Regions from separate parts of the Homo sapiens genome. Here all the other regions are linked to region 3. Evidence: promoter capture Hi-C in 16 types of primary human blood cells and fetal thymus (Javierre and others, 2016). All regions are on one chromosome and are shown on one strand. Each heading gives the region's core, a stretch centred on a gene start or on the middle of the fragment in contact. The rest is flanking DNA. Distances are from core to core; before and after follow the strand shown. Region 1 overlaps ARL8B (ARF like GTPase 8B). Region 2 has its middle 35 kb from the start of SETMAR. Region 3 holds the start of EGOT (eosinophil granule ontogeny transcript). Region 4 overlaps SUMF1 (sulfatase modifying factor 1). Region 5 holds the start of SETMAR (SET and mariner transposase domain methyltransferase). Region 6 has its middle 5.5 kb from the start of MIR4790. Region 7 overlaps SUMF1 (sulfatase modifying factor 1).

What was found. The method cuts DNA at HindIII sites, captures the fragments that hold promoters and counts their contacts. A CHiCAGO score of 5 or more calls a contact.
Region 1: a contact is called between a fragment that was not itself captured here and the fragment with the promoter of EGOT in region 3, in 4 of 17 cell types (total CD8 T cells, activated CD4 T cells, endothelial precursors and 1 more). The highest score is 7.1, in total CD8 T cells.
Region 2: a contact is called between a fragment that was not itself captured here and the fragment with the promoter of EGOT in region 3, in 4 of 17 cell types (total B cells, naive B cells, naive CD8 T cells and 1 more). The highest score is 6.8, in total B cells.
Region 4: a contact is called between a fragment that was not itself captured here and the fragment with the promoter of EGOT in region 3, in 1 of 17 cell types (total B cells). The highest score is 5.0, in total B cells.
Region 5: a contact is called between the fragment with the promoter of SETMAR here and the fragment with the promoter of EGOT in region 3, in 13 of 17 cell types (neutrophils, naive B cells, total B cells and 10 more). The highest score is 13.7, in neutrophils.
Region 6: a fragment that was not itself captured here is called in contact with the fragment with the promoter of EGOT in region 3 in 1 of 17 cell types (activated CD4 T cells); the score reaches 5.1 in activated CD4 T cells.
Region 7: a fragment that was not itself captured here is called in contact with the fragment with the promoter of EGOT in region 3 in 3 of 17 cell types (naive B cells, total B cells and activated CD4 T cells); the score reaches 10.0 in naive B cells.

What each region holds. Positions count from the first base shown.
Region 1 is chr3:5,166,349-5,169,048 of GRCh38, forward strand. The region is part of intron 1 of ARL8B (ARF like GTPase 8B); the gene reads left to right. Among named protein-coding and RNA genes, the nearest start is that of EDEM1, 20 kb to the right of the region's middle. The HindIII fragment of the contact is 503 bases long and covers 1,060-1,562 here.
Region 2 is chr3:4,337,113-4,339,812 of GRCh38, forward strand. It overlaps a transcript of SUMF1 not described here. Among named protein-coding and RNA genes, the nearest start is that of SETMAR, 35 kb to the left of the region's middle. The HindIII fragment of the contact is 7,610 bases long and covers 1-2,700 here.
Region 3 is chr3:4,750,147-4,752,846 of GRCh38, forward strand. It overlaps EGOT (eosinophil granule ontogeny transcript), which reads right to left and starts at 1,444. Exons shown (of 2, transcript NR_004428.1): 1 at 800-1,444. The region is part of intron 44 of ITPR1 (inositol 1,4,5-trisphosphate receptor type 1); the gene reads left to right. The HindIII fragment of the contact is 1,839 bases long and covers 618-2,456 here.
Region 4 is chr3:4,399,189-4,401,888 of GRCh38, forward strand. The region is part of intron 7 of SUMF1 (sulfatase modifying factor 1); the gene reads right to left. Among named protein-coding and RNA genes, the nearest start is that of SUMF1, 67 kb to the right of the region's middle. RefSeq lists a silencer at 377-671. The HindIII fragment of the contact is 2,792 bases long and covers 1-2,700 here.
Region 5 is chr3:4,302,026-4,304,725 of GRCh38, forward strand. SETMAR (SET and mariner transposase domain methyltransferase) reads left to right here and starts at 1,344. Exons shown (of 3, transcript NM_006515.4): 1 at 1,344-1,501. The coding sequence starts at 1,346. It also overlaps a transcript of SUMF1 not described here. RefSeq lists enhancers at 941-1,683, 1,712-1,781 and a silencer at 1,282-1,621. The HindIII fragment of the contact is 4,274 bases long and covers 129-2,700 here.
Region 6 is chr3:5,243,388-5,246,087 of GRCh38, forward strand. No RefSeq gene overlaps it. Among named protein-coding and RNA genes, the nearest start is that of MIR4790, 5.5 kb to the right of the region's middle. The HindIII fragment of the contact is 7,686 bases long and covers 1-2,700 here.
Region 7 is chr3:4,373,639-4,376,338 of GRCh38, forward strand. It overlaps SUMF1 (sulfatase modifying factor 1), which reads right to left. Exons shown (of 9, transcript NM_182760.4): 8 at 2,692-2,700. Among named protein-coding and RNA genes, the nearest start is that of SETMAR, 72 kb to the left of the region's middle. RefSeq lists enhancers at 2,018-2,518, 2,519-2,700. The HindIII fragment of the contact is 1,078 bases long and covers 912-1,989 here.

The sequences.
Region 1 (2,700 bases), core at 61-2,560, 420 kb after region 3:
TTTTTTTTTTTTTTTTTTTGGTAATGCTCTGTGGCCCAGGCTGGAGTGCAGTGGTGCCATCTCAGCTCACTGCAACCTCCGCCTCCTGGGTTCAAGCGATTGCATCAGCTTCCGGAGTAGCTGGGACTACAGGCAAGCCCCACCATGCCTGGCTAATTTTTTATATTTTAGTAGAGGCAGGGTTTCACCATGTTGCCCAGACTGGTCTTGAACTCCTGAGCTCAGGCAATCCACCTGCCTTGGCCTCCCAAAGTGCTGGGATTACAGGTGTGAGCCACCGCGCCCAGCTGTCTTAAGATATCTTTAGTAAAGTGTCCTTTCATTACTGGAGGTTCACCGCCTCATGTCTTCAGTCTTCCTGCTGTTAACTTTGGTTGCTGTCTGTACGTTCTTCACCATTTTCCATTTGTCTCATTTCTGAGATCTCTAGTAGAAAATGTAGGTAAGTGCTGCAAAGTGGAGTGTTGGCACTGATAGAACTTTCTAGGACAAGGTCTGCTTTAGCCTTTGGTATGCTAATGAATTTGGGAAAAGCCACATTTTTCTGCTGTTGTAGCATTCATCTCCTTGCTTACCTGTATTTTAAATGAACGGCCTATGAATAGAACATAAAACCATAAACGTTAGGGCTGGAAGTGACTGGAGATACTCTTCCAATTTCCTTTTTCTAGATAAGGAAGCTGAATCCCAAGGTCACATGACTTGCATCTAGTTAGTAAGTAGCATAATTGTTAATAAGATTCCCTGACTTTGAGAATAATCTTCTTTTCACCATCTTATTTTGCTTCAGATTTATTTTGTTCAACCAAGTTCCAGGTACACTGCCTTGCAACTTTGGCTTATAGGAGGGTAAGCATTATGACAGTGACAGCTCCATCTGCCATCACAGAATCACAGCGAGTGCCACGTGTGATCATGGCATTTAAGAAGGCAGGCATGAAAGCATACAGTAGTCCCTCTTATCCATGGTTTTGCTTTCCAGTTTCAGTTACCTATGATCAACCTCTGAAATAATAATGACTCTAAAGCAGAAGAGTACTGTGCCTAATTTATAAATTAAGCTTTATCATAGGTATGTATGTATTGGGAAAAACATAGTGTACATAGGGTTAGGTTCTATCTGTGATGTCAGGCATCCACTGGGGTTCTTGGAACGTATCCCCCAAGGATAAGGAGGGACTACTTACTTTTATTTTTCTACTCTTTCCCCCCCAAGTCAGATTAACTCATAATTATCCAGATCTTAAGAACAATGTGACTTTAGGCAAGTGACTTAAGCTGACTTTGCCTTGTTTTTCTCATCTGAGAAATGAAGATAATGCTACTCATTTCATTGGGTTGTTATAAGGATTAAACTATGCTGATGAATGTTAAGTGCTTAGTATTACGTGTTTGTTAAATTTGTTAAAATAAGTAGAATGATATACTACTAAGTAGTATTTTCTAAACATCTGTTTCCCAAACCTGTAGTCTTAATTAAGCAGCTTCTTGACAGCTCAGACATAAATTCTCAGGTATCTAGTGCCCAGTTGCCAACTGAGTGGTTATAGTTGTTCAACACAAGCTTTGAAAAGTGATGATTAAGATTGGACACTAGGAAAGAAGTAGAAAATACTTCCAGGTCCATAAAGTAATTATTGCACAAAATTCATGCATCAAAGTTAAGCACTTTATTGGCAGAAGAGTTCCAGCATTTTCCTCCTTCATGGCCTATGTTTTTTTTGAGACATGCTCTCACTCTATTGTCTAGGCTGGAGTACAGTGGCACAATCTTGTCTTAAAGTCATATCGTTCTTAAGATCTCAACCTCCACCTCCCAGGCTCAAGCAATCCTCCCACCTCAGCCTCCCTAGTAGCTGGGACTACAGGTGCATATAACCATGCCTGGCTAATTTTTGTATTTGTAGAGAGAAGGTTTTGCCGTGTCACCCAGGCTAGTCTTGAACTCCTGGGCCGCAGCAACCTGCCTGTCTCAGCCTCCCAAAGTGCTGGAATTACAAGCTTGAGCCACTATGCCTGGCCCTAATAACTCTTAGTTTGTTCAACAAATATTTATTGAATATCTTGCTCTACTCAAGAATTTTGGAGTAAAAACTCAAGGACTTGATTAGCTAATTTTCGGTTTTTGCATGTTAGCAGTAGCAGCTGAGTTACAGGAAAGTTGTTAGGGTTGGCCAAGGTAAAGAAAAGAGATAAATGAACCCCTGAGAAAGCTCGGGGGTACCCCAGTATACTGCAGCCCCCTACATTATTTTATTATGAAGTGCTGTAGTTGATGTTCATAATCATAAAACTTTACCTCCAATAGGGAGGGCCCTTGAGTGTTATCTAATTTAGTTTTCTTGTTTTGCAATAGATAAACTGACCCAGAAACATTGAGAACACATTAAATCATGTTCTATAGGTTGTTTGTGGGAAGTTAGCCAAGTGTATATTGCCTTTTAGAAAGCTTTCCATGCAAGCTAGTTGTAAAGTTTGGTACCTAAAAATTTTAGCTACTATTTTTCCTGCCTCTTCATTATGTAAAACACTTAATGATATGAAATAAATGAGCATTATCTCACGTAGATCTCTCCTCAGAGATTAAAGCCTATCACAATAAATATAATTACAATGAAAATATTTAAGAAAAATATAATCACGATTTAGCCATGTGACCTTGGGACTCTACTACCTGTTCTATGAAATGATAATGATAAT
Region 2 (2,700 bases), core at 48-2,547, 410 kb before region 3:
TTACATAGCCACTAGGCAGCTAAAACAACAAGAGAGCCAGCAATATGTTCTATTTCTCTGTCTCTTTTCTGTCCCTCCCTCCCTCCCTCCCTCCCTCCTTTCTTCCTTCCTTCCTTCCTTACTTCCTTCCCTCCTTCCCTCTCTCCCTCACTCCCCCTCCTTTTGTTTCTTCCTGTTTGCTGTCAACCAGCTATCCATCACCTCCATCACCCTACTGTCCCCTTGTCATTCATCTTCCTGCAGCCAGCTGCCCAGCCTCATCCTCACTGCTACACCCCTGGGAAAACACAAATTACTTCATTACTGGATGACCATCTCTACCATGTATCACTTTGCCAACTTTTGTTAGTCCTCTCGTCCAGACATATTTAATGCTCCCGGATTTATAAGGGCAGCCAGTTACAAACTGCTAATCCCACTAATTCCAACCCCACATGCCCACAACCTCTGCTCACCATGGTACCTACCTGAGCAGCCCACACTCTACCCTCCCTCCATCCCTTGACCACTTCCCTCCTCTTTCCTAACTTGCCACTACATCAAAGCATTTGTGCATAGTAGGTGGATACAGAAAAGTGCTTTCAAACAAATCTAAAACCCATTTCTCCTATCCTGCATTGAACATAATTGCATCTCTTCAATTAAAATTTTCATCTGCCCTCAAACAGTTTTACAAAGTGGGTTTGTTTTTGTTGCTTATTTTGGAAGTGTTTTCTTGCCAATCTGTATCTCCTACCCAACTCTTGAAAATAACCTTGTTTCCCTTTCCTCTCAGTAATCACCTCACCTCCCTCCCAGTAAACCCCCAATCATAGACATCCTCAACTTTTTCAAGGATAAAAAATCAAGGGCAGCTCAAAGATTAATCCTTTATCTTCAACAGACACCAGGCCTCCCCTCTATCCCAACTTGCTTTGCAGAAATTGCTTCCAAATTTTTGACTAGTTCAAAAATTAATTTTGACAACTAAATTATTGACTATTTTGAGTAGTAAGAATATTTTAGAGCTTGGCACAGTGGTGCATCCCTATAATCCTCACTACTCAGGAAGGTGAAGCAGGCGGAGGATGGCTTGAGCCCAGTCTCTGGGAGCTACAATCTGCAGGGAGCTACAATCACACCATGCACTCCAGCCTGGCAGACAAAGTGAGACCCTGTCTCTTTATTAAAAAGAAAAAAAAAAAAGATACTTTAAAGTAATATTTACTATCGTCATCCATTCAAAAAGAAAAGGCATCTTGACACAGGGAAGGTCTCTTAAAATCTCTCAGCAGTTCTTAAAATAAAGTCAGTGTGGCTTTATGAACAACATGACACCTTATCAGCACTTTGGAAGTAGTTCTGGTTGAACCACCTTGACACCAAAACAATTCATTCATTCATTCACAAACGTTTGTCAAGAATCTAGTACATGCTAAGTGGTGGGAAGTTGAGTCCCTGAGCTCATAATTCATTCAACCAATGTTTTCGAGCATCTACTGTTACATTCTGGAGAAATCAGGACGCAAAGCAATTTTCATTCTCAAAGAATTCATGGTCTCATAAGGGAAAAACCAAAACAAAATTTGAATGACAGAGTCTATGTACTAGGTCTACCTAGTACCTATGTATATCTAGTACGTAGAGTCTCATATGTATACCTAGTACAGAGTCTCTCACAGGTATACCTAGTACATATGTATACCTAGTACACAGAGTCTTTCATTGGGTCTTTGAGCCCCTATAATTTAGTGTGTGTGTGCAAATTTGGCATTCGTGTGATTGAGTTATGTCTAGCTACTCTATGAGACTGTAAGATCCTGGCGGACTGGGACCAGGTCTGTCTTTGCTCACCAGAGCCTCGCCAGTGCTGAATGGGTATTGCTGACTGAGCCAACTAATGTTAGTGTGATGAGCCTGACGTTAACTTTCCAACCAAGTTCAAACTCTTTATTTGGGGACCTTAATACCTTCCACAAACTACTTCCTCAGCAATATCCCACTACTCCCTCCTCATTCTGTGACGTAGCCCATTTCTGTGGCTCTCCTGTTCCTAATGGGCCTTAGGCTATGTTTCACTCATGCTGCTTTCCTCTCTTGGGACACCTCCCATGTCCAATCCTTCCGCCCCTCCCTTCATCACTGATTGACTTCTTCCCCATCCTCTTTAAAGTCTCAACTTGTCCCATTTTCCTTGTGAGGTATGCCCCACAGCTCAGGGGGTACCCAAGGAAGCAGTCTCTGGGAGGAAAATTGGAGCACAGGAAGATCAAGAGCTGCTGCTAGGATTCCCACCTGTGGAATGGAAGGAAAGGAAGCAGGCTGGGCAAAGGAGGAGTTGGGCTGCAATGAAATCTCAACGAAGACCTCAGCCAACCCGCAGGTAGCTCTGAAGCCAAGGCAGCTTTTTAGGGTGGCTCCATGTTGTAGCTGCGGACAGGGTCTTTAGATTTCTGCATCAACCAGTCTGTTGTAGCTGCGGACAGGGTCTTTAGATTTCTGCATCAACCAGTCAGTGGATGTAGACTGCCCCCTGGAAAGAGGTCTTGGGTAGGAAGGCTGATAGCACTCTCAGCAATTAGATGAATACATCTTTCAGTCCTTCTAGGACATCTGGGCAATGCACACAACAACTGCTGTACAAATATTCCCACATTTTTGCACCCATCCAAATCACCCAGAGGCTTTTTGAAACACTGACTGGGCCAGGCATGGTGGCTC
Region 3 (2,700 bases), core at 194-2,693:
GTATCAAATTTACTCCTTAATTTACCTCAGGAGATGTTCTAAGAGGAAGCCACAAGATTCCATACCTGCTGTTGTTGTTTTAGAGCTGGTGGATTTTTTTTTTTTTAATCCGCGGAGGAGGACTTGACCCTGTGGGTTCCTAACTTGGATGGCCATGCAGAGCACCCTTAACTTGGAAATCTATATCCTGCTGTTTAAACTTCAAGATGATTCCTATCTGGATTAAAGTCCTCAACCAGCAGGCCGAGGCAAACTCTAAAGAAAAACAAGGTCATGCTGCATTTTTTTTTGGTAAGCACAGGAATCAACAAAGAGATGTTATATAACTTCTATTTATATCCTCCTTGCTCACTATCTGCAGGCAGACAAGAGTCGCTGAGAAGGGATTTAATGAGCTCTCTGGGTTTGCTCACCTTCCTGAGCTGGTAGGAACCAGCTTGTTCTCAAATGCGTCAGTAAAGAATCTGGCTGTGGGTGGGCGGCCAGGGTAGGTGGACTGCGTTGTTGCTATGGTGTTTTTTAATTCCCCTGTCTCTCAAAGATCTCACTCCCCCCTTCCCTGACTCCTTCCTTTTGCCCCCTTCCTTTCTTTCTTTCTTTTTTTTTTTAAATCTGTAAGCTTCCTTGTTTCTCACACCTACTCATGATTCTTGGAGCTGTCTCCGGAAACAGAATATTTTCCCTCTCCTTCCTAAGTGCTCAGCTCCCCCATTGTGTAGCCCCGGGACATCAGAAGTTGTTTTCTAAGGTGTGTTTTTTCCACCCTCCCTTATTTCTTTTCCCATGATTTTTTTATTACCAATCCCTCCATGAGAGAGACCTATCCTAGGAGTCTTCCATCTTGCCTGATAGAAGTTTTCTCTGGCATATTCCAAATTCAGATTGCTCCAAAACCAGGTGAAGTCTGTTGCTAGTTGGACAGTCGGTATGGCCTGGAGGAGAAGGGCTGTTTGTATTTCCATGCATCCTCCTTTGTCCTCTTGCCCTGGGTGAAGCAATGACGTCTCTGTCTCCTCTAGTGCGTTATAAAATAGAACCGCAAGAAAACAAGAGAATGGGTTTACCCCACAATCATAATTCCTGGAGCTTGGGTAACTCCTGTTACCTGAAGGTTGCAGGTTGAAATGACTCAGCTTGCATTTAATTAAAAAAAAAAATGCTGCCCCATCAGATTCTCAGCAGGGACGACGAATGCACCTTGCTGAGAACCCTATGGCTGCCCAGGGAGTGGCCCCCTGCACCCTGGCCGGCCTGGTGGTGGCCACAGAGGCTTCTGAGATGGCTCTGTGTTGTCCATCACATTCCCACCAGAGCAGAGACACTTAGAAGATGTGAGTAGGGAGGTTAGGATGAAAAGTTCTTAGAAAAGAATATGTAGTTCCATGAGGACAGGCTGAAAAAATTTTTAAAAAGCCAAACCCACCTCTGCCTTGCCCAGAAGTTGTGCAATCCTTAATAGCAGTAGCCTGTTTGAATAATCAGAGGCAAGCTGACTTCCCTTTATTAACTTCTGTTAGAGACATCTGCATAAAATATCCCCGGATTCCAGACCAAGTAGGTAATTTTTTTTTCCCCTCTGAGTAACGGGAGGGACTTTCCCTTTGGAAATCTTCCAGCAGAGTTAACTTCATGGTTGAGACTGTTTTCTCATTATAAGGTGCCAACAGCTAGATTCCTGATGCAGGGACAGTGAAGGCGCCTCATGTACACACTTGGATCCCCTGCTTCCCTGAGAACTGACTTGATGTTCACAGTTGCCTCTGGTTCTTCTGCCTTGACCCTCCTTTTCACGGAGAAATCTATGCCCGCTCACATTTCCTGAGGTCCTCTGAGTTCCTCTTTGAAACTGTCAGAGGCTCTCTCAAAGTTTCTACCAATTTCCTATTCCTGGGTTTTAGACTTTTGATCAAGATGGCTCTGACACTGAAGGGGATAGTCCTGTAAACCCTCTGAAGTCTTCAAGCCTCGTTTTTCCCCTGGAATTCAGGACTTTAAAAATATATATATTTTATTGCTCTTCGAGGAGGATGTGTTGCAGTTGCCCTCACCATATGGTATTTGAGAAATATGTTTTTATTAGCCTCCTTGCAACACAAACCCACAAACTGTTGAGCCCAGAGCTTGTAGCTATCAAGTCTGGGGAGGGAGCCAGGTTTGGAGACGGAAGGTGCACAAATGATCATCCCTCCCGGGCTGTAGTTAATCATGCAAGCTGCTGTGTCACTGGGGCCGGGGTAGTTAACAGTTAACTCGATGGATTAAGGATCCTCAGCCAGGCTGAGCCCATCACAGAGTTACGTGCAAAAACCGGATAAGCCCGTAGAGGTGACAACACCACATCAGCTGCCTTTGGCTGGTCTGCGGTGTGCTGCATATTCCCACTTAGCAGGACTTTGAGCTTTCACATGCAGGCTTCTTCTGGCCATAAAGTTATACTTCAGCTGCCATGGATGCAAAGCTTGGCTTGAGTGTTTCGGAATTGCACCTCCTTCAGGATTATTGTTCATTCATTAATATAGTAAATTTTTTAAAAAGAGAGAAGAGGCCTTACTGTGTTGACCAAGCTGGCCTTGAACTCCTGGGCTGAAGAGATCTTTCTGTCTCAGCCTCCGGAGTAGCTAGAACTACTGGCTTGTGTCACCACAGCCGGCTTAATATAGCAGATGTTTACTTACTGAGCACTCCCTGGGTGTCAGGTGC
Region 4 (2,700 bases), core at 131-2,630, 350 kb before region 3:
CTTTACTCCTCACTCCTCGTTTTGTTCACCCCAGAAGCACAGCAGTCTGGAGTAAAGTCAGGACTATATTATACAGGGATGCAGGGTCTGAGGCATATATCTTCTTTTAACCCGAAACACATTTCACCCTAAAAATCTATAAAGCTACAGTGGGGAAGGGCTTGGGGGCCATCTTTAAGTTGACGGAGACCACTCTTCCCCCCCAAACCATTTGTGATGACTCAGGAGTACTGTGGGAAAACTCTTTATGAACATGGACTACTCTATGTGAGAAAATGTAAAGAAGAGAATTATTGAGTTGGAATATATATGTTTATTAATCTTTGCTTACAGCCAAGAGTGATGAGACAGAGCCCTATCTGAAAATATTAAGCAGCAATCACAGGCTGAGACAGTGCGGGAACATTTAGGGTTAACTGTAATTCACTGCCAAGAAAAAACAATCTGTCCAGGGAGAGCCCAGGTCATGAAAAAGATGGAAAGGAAGGCCCACGGAAGTGGAAGACAGGATGCCAACTCTGGCAGAGTCTGGCCCTCAAAACAGTGCGTAAATTTCCTTTCTTTTCTTTTCTTGTTTTTCTTTTTTTGAGACAGAGTCTCGCTCTGCCATCTAGCCTGAAGTGCAGTAGCGCGATCTCGGCTCACTGTAACCTCTGCCTCCTAGGTTCAAGTGATTCTTGTGCCTTAGCCTCCCAAGTAGCTGGGACTACAGGCCCGTGCCACCACACCCAGCTAATTTTTGTATGTTTTAGTAGGGATGGAGTTTCACCATGTTAGCCAGGCTACGTGATCCGCCCACTTCACCTTCCCAAGATGCTGGGATTACAGGCGTGAGCCACTGCACCCAGCCGAGAGCCTAAATTTCTGTTCTCGATTCATACCTCAAACCACACCAAGACAAGAGATAAAATTCCTCAAGCAACCGACCCAAACTGGGGGCCGAATTCTACCTGAATTCCCAGAGTACCCCTCCTCTGCCCAGAAAAGCTGCTCAGACATGGCCTGCCAGCTGTGGATGCAACTAAGGGAGCCAAGAAAGACAGGCTTTCAAGCCCTCACCCTGAAATTTCCCCATGGCCTTTCCAGGTGAAGAAAAGTATAGGAAAGGAATAAACAATCTTTTGATTGAAAGAAATCCAAAAAACCCGGGCTTTGGTTCTGGCTTCCTAAGCATCAGTGGAGCAAAAGTGCCTATTACCATGGAAATGATAAGAAACCACCATTAGGAATTCTGAGATTCAAATTCTCTGGAGGCAAGGACTGCGTGATGTTTATGTTTGCCACTATCACACAGCAGGTGCTCAAAAATGCTATTAAACAAATGAAAGAAAAATAACATAATCTGGTCTACTAAACAACAAGAGGCAATGCTGAAGGGGAAAGGATTTTCCAAAGGGAGATGTTCCAACCAAGAGGCGCTTAGAAACCGTAATCTGCTCTCATTTACCAAGTGCTTGCTGTGTGGTGGGCACAGTGAGTTAACCTCTCTTTTTAATCCTCAGAACAGTTCAATATTGTTGAATCTTACTATTACTCCATTTTATAGACAAGGAAACAGAAGCAAAGGATTTCACCCCCTGGCCCCAAGATAGCAGAGCTGGGATGTGGACCTAGATGGAAATCATTTTATTTTATTTTTATTATACTTTAAGTTCTAGGGTACATGTGCACAACGTGCAGTTTTGTTACATATGTATACATGTGCCATGTTGGTGTGCTGCATCCATTAACTTGTCATTTACATTAGGTATTTCTCCTAATGCTATCCCTCCCCCCTCCCCCCACCCCACAACAGGCCCTGGTGTGTGATGTTCCTCACCCGGTGTCCAAGTGTTCTCATTGTTCAACTCCCACCCATGAGTGAGAACATGAGGTGTCTGGTTTTCTGTCCTTGTGATAGTTTGCTAAGAATGATGGTTTCCAGCTTCATCCATGTCCCTACAAAGGACATGAACTCATCATTTTTCATGGCTGCACAGTATTCCATGGTGTATATGTGCCACATTTTCTTAATCTAGTTTATCACTGATGGACATTTGGGTTGGTTCCAAGTCTTTGCTCTTGTGAATAGTGCCACAATAAACATACGTGTGCATATGTCTTTATAGTAGCATGATTTATAAGCCTTTGGGTATATACCCAGTAATGGGATCGCTGGGTCAAATGGTATTTCTAGTTCTAGATCCTTGAGGAATTGCCACACTGTCTTCCACAATGGTTGAACTAGTTTACACTCGGTGGAAATCATTTTAAAAACACCCTCTTAACCATGTTACTGTCAGCTGCAGCCTCCATCACTGCCTACTTTCCAAGCAAGCAGCAGACCCAAGGGCAGTTCCCCGGATTTACTGTACCCGTGGGAATGGCTTGCTACATCCTCAGCACAACTTACAGATGAAGCACTAAGCCTACAAGGGTGACATGACTCACCTAGGGCCCCACGACATTTTAAAGCTAAATCTCAGATGGAAACCCAGGCGACTGACCTCACTTTCATCACTTAACCATGGCTCTGTTATTCAGCACAGCAGAAAGAACTTTACTGAGAATGACAAATAACCACACTAGCAAACTCTCTGCTCTTTTCTTTTAATGGTTCTGTGATAAGCCCAACCCATCCTGCTGAACTGCTGCCATCCCAATCTTATAGCATATGGCTCTCCCTTCCCAGGAGCGTGATACACTGTGAAAAGGTAACCA
Region 5 (2,700 bases), core at 94-2,593, 450 kb before region 3:
AACAAGGAAAGGTCTGCAAGATGGAAACACATTTAGGCCAATGGGACCTCAGAAGCTGCAAGGTCAGAAGGGTTTGTGAACCCAAAATTATCTGAGACAGGTCTCAATTTAGAAAGTTTATTTTCCCAAGCTTAAGAATGCGCCCCCAACATAGCCTCAGGCAGTCCTGATGACATGTGCCCAAGGTGGTTGGGATACAGCTTACTCTCACACATTTTAGGGAGACATAATACATCAATCAATACATGTAAGATTGGTTGGATCTGGAAAGGCAGACAACGAGAAGCGGGTGAGGGGTGGCTTCCAGGTCATAGGTAGATTTAAAGATTTTCTGATTGGCAACTGGTTATTATCTAAAGACCTAAAATCAATAGAAACGAATGTCTGGGTTGCAATAAGAGGTTGTGGATACCAAATTTGATCGTGGAGATGAAGCCTCCAAGAGGTAAATTTCAGAGAACAGATTGTAAATGTTTCTTATCAGACTTAAGGTGTGTGTTGATGTTGATGCTGGCTGGCTTTTCCTGAATTCCAAAAGGAAGAAGGGCATAATGAGGCATGTTGGACCCCCCTTCCCATCATGGCCTGAACCACTTTCTCAGGTTAACCTTGGCAGAGAGGAGGGGTCCCTTCAGATGGTTTGGAGGATTGGAATTTTATTTTTGGTTTACAGTTTCAAGGAGAAGCAGGACAATCATGTCAGAGAGCTTCAGTGAGGTTGAAAATGCTCCACCGGATTCAGCAGTCTTGAGGCTATCAGAATCCTTTGGCAGGGCAGGGGTTTGGAGGGGTGAGGGTAGAGGGATGGAGAGGAGGGAAAAGGACAGGCAAAGGGGCACGGATACCTCCATCAGGGAGTGAGCATGCCCCCACACAAATTCCTTAAGGCACCCTGTGAGGCTATCGCCTTGGCACAAACCCTATCACATGTCAGTCAACTTCCCGGCAAGCCGCAGACCTTTAGAAACCTTGGTGTGCGTTTCCCCGCTCGGTTTAGAACGCACCCCTGCCTCCACTCCACAAACGTGCAGTGAGCCCTCAAAAACCTGGACAAATGACCTCACCTCGAAAGCCCCCTCTCTGATGCTCCCAGGAAAAACTAAAGCACCTCACTTTGTTTCGTCCGTACCTTACATGGTTTTGTAATTATCTGTGGTGCCTCTGGCTGAAATCAAAACGGGAGCCAGACCCAAAAAGTCAAGGAAGGGAAGCGCCTTCCAGGCCACTCCTGAGAAGAAACGAACTACAATTCCCATGAGGCGGTGGGGCCACGGGACCACAAGTCCCAGCATCCACCGCGCGGCCCAGGACTGTCAGGGTAGTGGGCGTTGCGTGAGGCGGGTAAATGTTCGCGGAAGCGGCAAAGACGACACGGCCTTGTGGGATGGCGGAGTTTAAGGAGAAGCCTGAGGCCCCGACTGAGCAGCTGGATGTCGCGTGCGGCCAGGAAAACTTGCCGGTGGGCGCGTGGCCCCCGGGGGCCGCGCCGGCGCCCTTCCAGGTAGGGGCGGGGCCAGGCGGCGCGGGAGGCGGGCGCGCGGCTCCCCCACGTGGTCTCCTCAAGCCGCCTCGCTGGGACGGCCTCCCAGTCGCGACCTTTTGTCTTCTCTTACAGCGCACCCGTTGGTGCGCGGGAATAGGTGTGCATGCCCCGGCCTGGGCCTTTTTCTGTTGACCCACGGCATCACCTTAGCAAGGGTGTTGTCCTTTTCAGTCCATTCCCTGAAGCGCAGAACCGGAGGCCTTGTGAGAACCTGGCTTTTTGTCCAGTCCTGTCCTCAGAACTCAAGGAGGCATCACGGGGGGAGTCATTTACCTCCCTGGTCTCAGGTGTCTCTCACAGGTAGGATAAGCCGTGGGGCCTATTAATGGATCGCAGCCGGTGTCGTGCATAAAAACAGCCCCTCGAGTCAGCCTTAGCTGTGGTCTCCCTCACGCTGTGGGCTCTTGGGCGAGTGTAAATTAGCTGTGGCTCAGCCTTAGAGTCTTCCAGCGTACAGTGGAACAGTACCTCTCTTCCGGAGTGCTTTGAAAATGGCAAGGAAAATACACTTTCCGGTTTGCTGTAAGAACTCAGTAAATGTTTGCTTCTATTAACTACCTCAAAGCCCTTTCTACTCTCCTTTTTCTTTTTGAGACTGAGTCTCGCTCTGTCGCCCAGGCTGGAGTGCACTGGCGCGATCTCGGCCCACCGCAACCTCCACCTCCCGGGTTCAAGCGATTCTCCTGCCTCAGCCTCCCGAGTAGCTGGGATTACAGGCATGGGCCACCACGCCCGGCTAATTTTTGTATTTTTAGTAGAGACAGGGTTTCTCCATGTTGGTCAGGCTGGTCTCGAACTCCCAACCTCAGGTGATCCGCCCGCCTCGGCCTCCCAAAATGCTGGGATTACAGGCATGAGCCACGCTCCCAGCCTCTACTGACTTTCTTATCCCTCCGACCTTGGCCTGAGCGTTACCCAAGGAATAAGGAATGACCAAAGATTTTGAAGTGGAAAGAGCGCTGGACGTGGAAGTTGGAGAGTATGGTTCGGAGCTTAGACATCTTAGCTACTTCCCAGAGCCTGAGTTTCTTCATCTGCAAAATGAAAATAATAATTTAAAAATGCATAGCCCCTTTAACATCCATTATCAACAATGAACCCTATCTGCCCTTTCTTTTTCCTAGGGGTTTTTGTGAGGATCAGATAAGATAAGAGAT
Region 6 (2,700 bases), core at 99-2,598, 490 kb after region 3:
GAGAATCAGGCGGGGAGGTTGCAGTGAGCCGAGATGGCAGCAGTACAGTCCAGCTTTGGCTCGGCATCAGAGGGAGACTGTGGAGAGAGAGGGAGAGGGAGACCGTGGGAAGAGGGAGAGGGAGACCGTGGGGAGAGGGAGAGGGAAAGCGAGAGCGAGAACGAGAGCGAGAGCGACAGCGACTATGGTCATTTTCTAACAGTCCTTTCATGGAGTCTCCCAAAGGTTTCTGTGTCCTTTCCCAGAGATGGGCTGCATATCTATCTGTATAAAGGAAGAGTATACATAATGTTTGCAAACCCTCTACTGAACACTTCTTGATTTAAAAATCACACTTGCTTCTGATACATGTTCTCCTACATAGTAGGGAGAGCTTATCTTTTCTATTCCAAATAAGGCTTAAGAAAGTTGTGTTAGCCTACATATAGCCAAGACAATCCTAAGCAAAAAGAACAAAGCTGAAGGCATCACGTTACCTGCCTTCAAACTACACTATAAAGCTACAGTAACCAAAACAGCATGGTACTGGTACCAAAACAAATATATGGACCAATGGAACAGAACAGAGGCCTCAGAAATAACACCACACATCTACAACCATCTGATCTTTGACAAACCTGACAAAAATAAGCAGTGGGGAAAGGATTCCCAATTTAATCAATGGTGTTGGGAAAACTGGTTAGCCATGTGTAGAAAACTGACACTGGACCACTTCCTTACACCTTATACAAAAATTAACTCAAAATGGATGAAAGACTTAAACATAACACCTAAAACCATAAAAACCCTAGAAGAAAACCTAGGCAATACCATTCAGGACAGAGGCATGGGCAAAGACTTTATGACTAAAACACCAAAAGCAATGGCAACAAAAGCCAAAATTGAGAAATCGGATCTAATTAAACTAAAGAACTTCTGCACAGCAAAAGAAACTATCATTAGAGTGAACAGACAACCTGCAGAATGGGAGAAAATTTTTGCAATCTATCCATCTGACAAAGGGCTAATATCCAGAATCTACAAGGAACTTAAACAAATTCACAAGAAAAAAAAAAACAACCCCATTAAAAAGTGGGCAAAAGATATGAACAGACGCTTCTCAAAAGAAGGCATTTATGTGGCCAACAAACATGAAAAAAAGCTCATCATCACTGGTCATTAGAGAAATGCAAATCAAAATAGCAATGAGATACCATCTCATGACAGTTAGAATGGCAATCATTAGAACGTCAGGAAACAACAGATGCTGGAGAAGATGTGGGGAAATAGGAATGCTTTTACACTGTTGGTGGGAGTGTAAACTAGTTTAACCATGTGGAAGACAGTGTGGCAGTTCCTCAAGGATCTAGAACCAGAAATGCCATTTGACCCAGCAATCCCATTACTGGGTATATACCCAAAGGATTATAAATAGTTCTACTATAAAGACACATGCACATATATGTTTATTGTGGCACTATTCACAATAGCAAAGACTTGGAACCAACCCAAATATCCATCAATGATAGACTGGATTAAGAAAATGTGGCACATATACACCATGGAATACTATGCAGCCATACAAAAGGATGAGTTCATGTCCTTTGCAGGGACATGGATGAAGCTGGAAACCATCATTCTCAGCAAACTAACACAGGAACAGAAAACCAAACACTGTATGTTCTCACTCATAAGTGAGAGTTGAACAATGAGAACACATGGACACAGGGAGGGGAATATCACACACCAGGGCCTGTTGGGATGTTAGGGGACAGGGGAAGGATAGCATTAGGAGAAACACCTAATGTAGATGACAGGTTGATGGGTGCAGCAAACCACCATGGCACGTGTATACCTATGTAACAAACCTGCACATTCTGCACATGTATTCCAGAACTTAAAGTATAATAAATTAAAAAAAAAAAAAAGAAAATTGTGCTGGGATAGCACCATGGCCTCAGCATTTCTGCCCAGGGAAAAGCATTAAGAGTTATCAGATTACCCATCTCTTTGGGGGATGTACTGCAAGAAGTTCTCTCCTGTCCCCATTGCTAAGTGCACTATGCAAGCCCTGAGGCCCAGGAATGTTCAGACTATTGAAGAATCTCAACCTTTCCCTGAGGGTAGGAGTAGTGTCTGGTATAGCTTAGCATCATCTCTGATAGGCAATAATAAGAGTAAGGCCATCTTTGCTGGTTGCTGATTCTTTCTGTTCTGTAATTTCTGTTTGATAAGATCAAATGGGCTCAACGTACTGTGTAGGCCAGACAGAGAGAGAGTCCAAATCTGGTAGATTTTAGGATAAGACAGTGGGCCTTGCTTATATCACTGAGTTCTCTGGGCTTTGATAGAATTTGATAGAATTTATTGGCCTTCACCGTGTTCCTAGGTCAGGTGGTTTTCTGTCCTCTTGTTCCAGGTATAATGGCGGGGCACTAAGTTACTCCAGCACTTAGTGACTTGTGCTCATGGATTCTGTGGGTCAGGAGATCAGATAGGGTATACCCATTTGGGGACAGCTTGTCTGTGCTCTGGGTGGTTGGGGATCCTCATTTGGGAAGACTCAAAAGTTGGTGGTAACACAACCTCAGGGGGCTGGAATCCCCTGAGGGTTAATTCCTGCACATATTGTGTGCCTGGACCTGGGTGACTCAGAGAGTTTTCACCTGGCCTCTCCATGTGGCTTGACTTCCTCACAGCATGGCAATTTCAGGGTAGCTG
Region 7 (2,700 bases), core at 201-2,700, 380 kb before region 3:
ACACTAATTCTACATAAACTCTTGCAAAAAAATTTAAAATAAGTTAATATTTAACAACTCAATCTATGAAGTCAGCAATACCCTGAAACCAAAATCAGATAAAGACATTACAAGAAAACACAGAATAAACTAGATTCAAAAATACTCATAATTTTTGCAAATCAAATCCAAAAATGTATAAAAAAGATAATACATCATGACTAAGTGGAATGATACATATCCCAGGAATGCAAGGATAGCTTAATATTTGAAAATCAATGTAATTCACCATATGAACAGATAGAAAAAGCAAAATCATATTATCATCTCAATAGATGCAGAAAAAGCTCCCAGCAAAATCTACATCCATTGCTGATAAAAAACTCTAAAAAATTAGCAATGGAAAAAAACTTTCTCAAGCTGTAAAGGGCATGCATCTATGAAAAAGCTATTGCTAATACATATCCAATTTTGAAAAACTGAATGTTTATTCCCTAAGATCAAGAATGAGGTATGAAGGTCTACTCTTACCATTCCTATTCAACCCTATACTGAAGGTTCTAGCCAATGACATACAGCAAGAAAAAGTTATAAAAGGGATCTAGATTAAAAAGGAAGAACTGTCGATATTCACAGATCATATGATCAGCTATGTAGAAAATATGATACAATTTACAAAAACATTACTAGAACTAATAAATGAGTTTTGCAAGGTTGCAAGACTCAAGATGAACATAAAAAATCAGTACCATGTAAGTGTACTTAATAAAGTATGTAGGAGTTTAAAAGATATTTTTAAAGAATCTACTGGGAAGCTTATAAAAATGTAGATTACAAATAAGCTAAAAGTTATAAAACATGAAAGTAGATACATTCATACGCATGGAATTAGGACAGTTAATGTCCTTTACTTGCTTAAAATGTTTTTTACAAGCTTCTGTTACCCCATTTATTCTTGATGAAAAATCTTCTGGTCCTCAATTACTTAGAAAGTAAATGGATTCTGAATTTAGAAAAGTGCCATATGCCAGAGACATAACTGGTGACAATTAGGATTTTGAGATACTACTGTACAAAGAGAGATTCACCTGTTTTCCATGGAAGTCTGGTTTCCTGGCAAGAAGATCCAGGTACATTTGTAGCAATAACTTCAAATAGAGAAGCAATCTGGGATTAAAGACTCTGATGTATACGTGAACATGTAAATATATTGGGAAGACCTGGGACAATGCTTTTAATTTAAAATTAAAACTAGGATTTTAGGCCGGGCACAGTGGCTGATGCCTGTAATCCCAACACTTTGGGAAGCAAAGGCAGGAAGAATTTCCTGAGCCCAAATGTTCAAGACCAGCCTAGGCAACATGGCAAGACCCCATCTCTAAAAAAAATTTAAAAATTAGCCAAGTTACTTAGGAGGCTGAGATGGGAGGATCGCTTGAGCCCAGGAGGTCGGGGCTGTAGTGAGCTGTGATTGTGCCACTGCACCTCAGTCTGGGTGAAGAGTGAGACTCTGTCTCAAAAAAAAAAAAAAAAAAAAAAAAAGATTTCATGAAAATAAATTGGTCTACATCTTATTACCAATGTAGGTCTAAAGCATCAATTGAGCTCTGCTCTATGAACTTCAACCTGAATCACTGGATTAAAAATTCTAAGAAATACAGAAGATACACATACATACAAACTCACATATATACATAAAATCTAGAGAGATTTGCTTTAGGCTAGTGATTCCCGAACTTGGCTGTATGTTTTCATCACCTGGAGAGCTTTAAAAAATGCAATGCCCAGCTCACACTGAAGAAAAATCAAATCAGAATGGGGGTGAGTGAGGAGCCAGACATCAGTATTTTATATAGATCCCAGATGATTACAATGTGGAATAAAGTTTGAGAACCACTGTTTAAGACAAAATTTGATAATGCCATCATTATCAAATTAGTAACTTAATTTGGAGCCATTATAGGTGGTTTTAAGTCTCTAACCACCTGGACTGAATAAATTCCTAGGGGAAGCTTTGAGGCAATAACAATCTGCAAAATGCCATCTCTGCACAGGGATAGAAAGCTGGAGTTCAGGAGACGTGAAAAATATATGACTCAAAGAAAAAAGGGAAGGGATGGTATTCTATTTCCAAATTCCTTATAAAGGTTATTTAGGAAACACCAAGTCACTCTAACTGATGAAGAAAGCCAGCTCAGACACTAAAATCATAGCCCAAAGAGAAGAAACACTCTCTGGGAATGATGCTTATTTCACAAGGCACACTTTGTACCTAGAACACGGGATGCTTCCATTTCAGTATATCACAATCTGCCCTCCATACATAACTCTCACCTGAATCTCAACAGAAAATCCAGAAATGTACAGGATTCTCAAATAAATTAAGGGTGTGCTTTCAGACTTACATGCTGGAAAAGTTATATACACCCACCCCTGTGCAGTTCGTGGGACAACAAAGGTCTCTCAAAGGGGCAAGATTCAATAGATGAAATTTGGTTGACAATAGGTCATTCACAACCTTTGTTACTTGTGTTACTTTTCTCCATGCTTGTAACCAAATTTGAGATGACTGTCCTCCTTTTTTTCTGGTTTCAGTGGGGTTAGGTAGGCATTTGCAGAAGTGAATGAGACATTTGGGGCTATCATTTACAATGGATCCATAAAACTGCTATCAGAACAAGAACGGCAAAACAGTTTAGTGACATGACTTACCCTATGGCA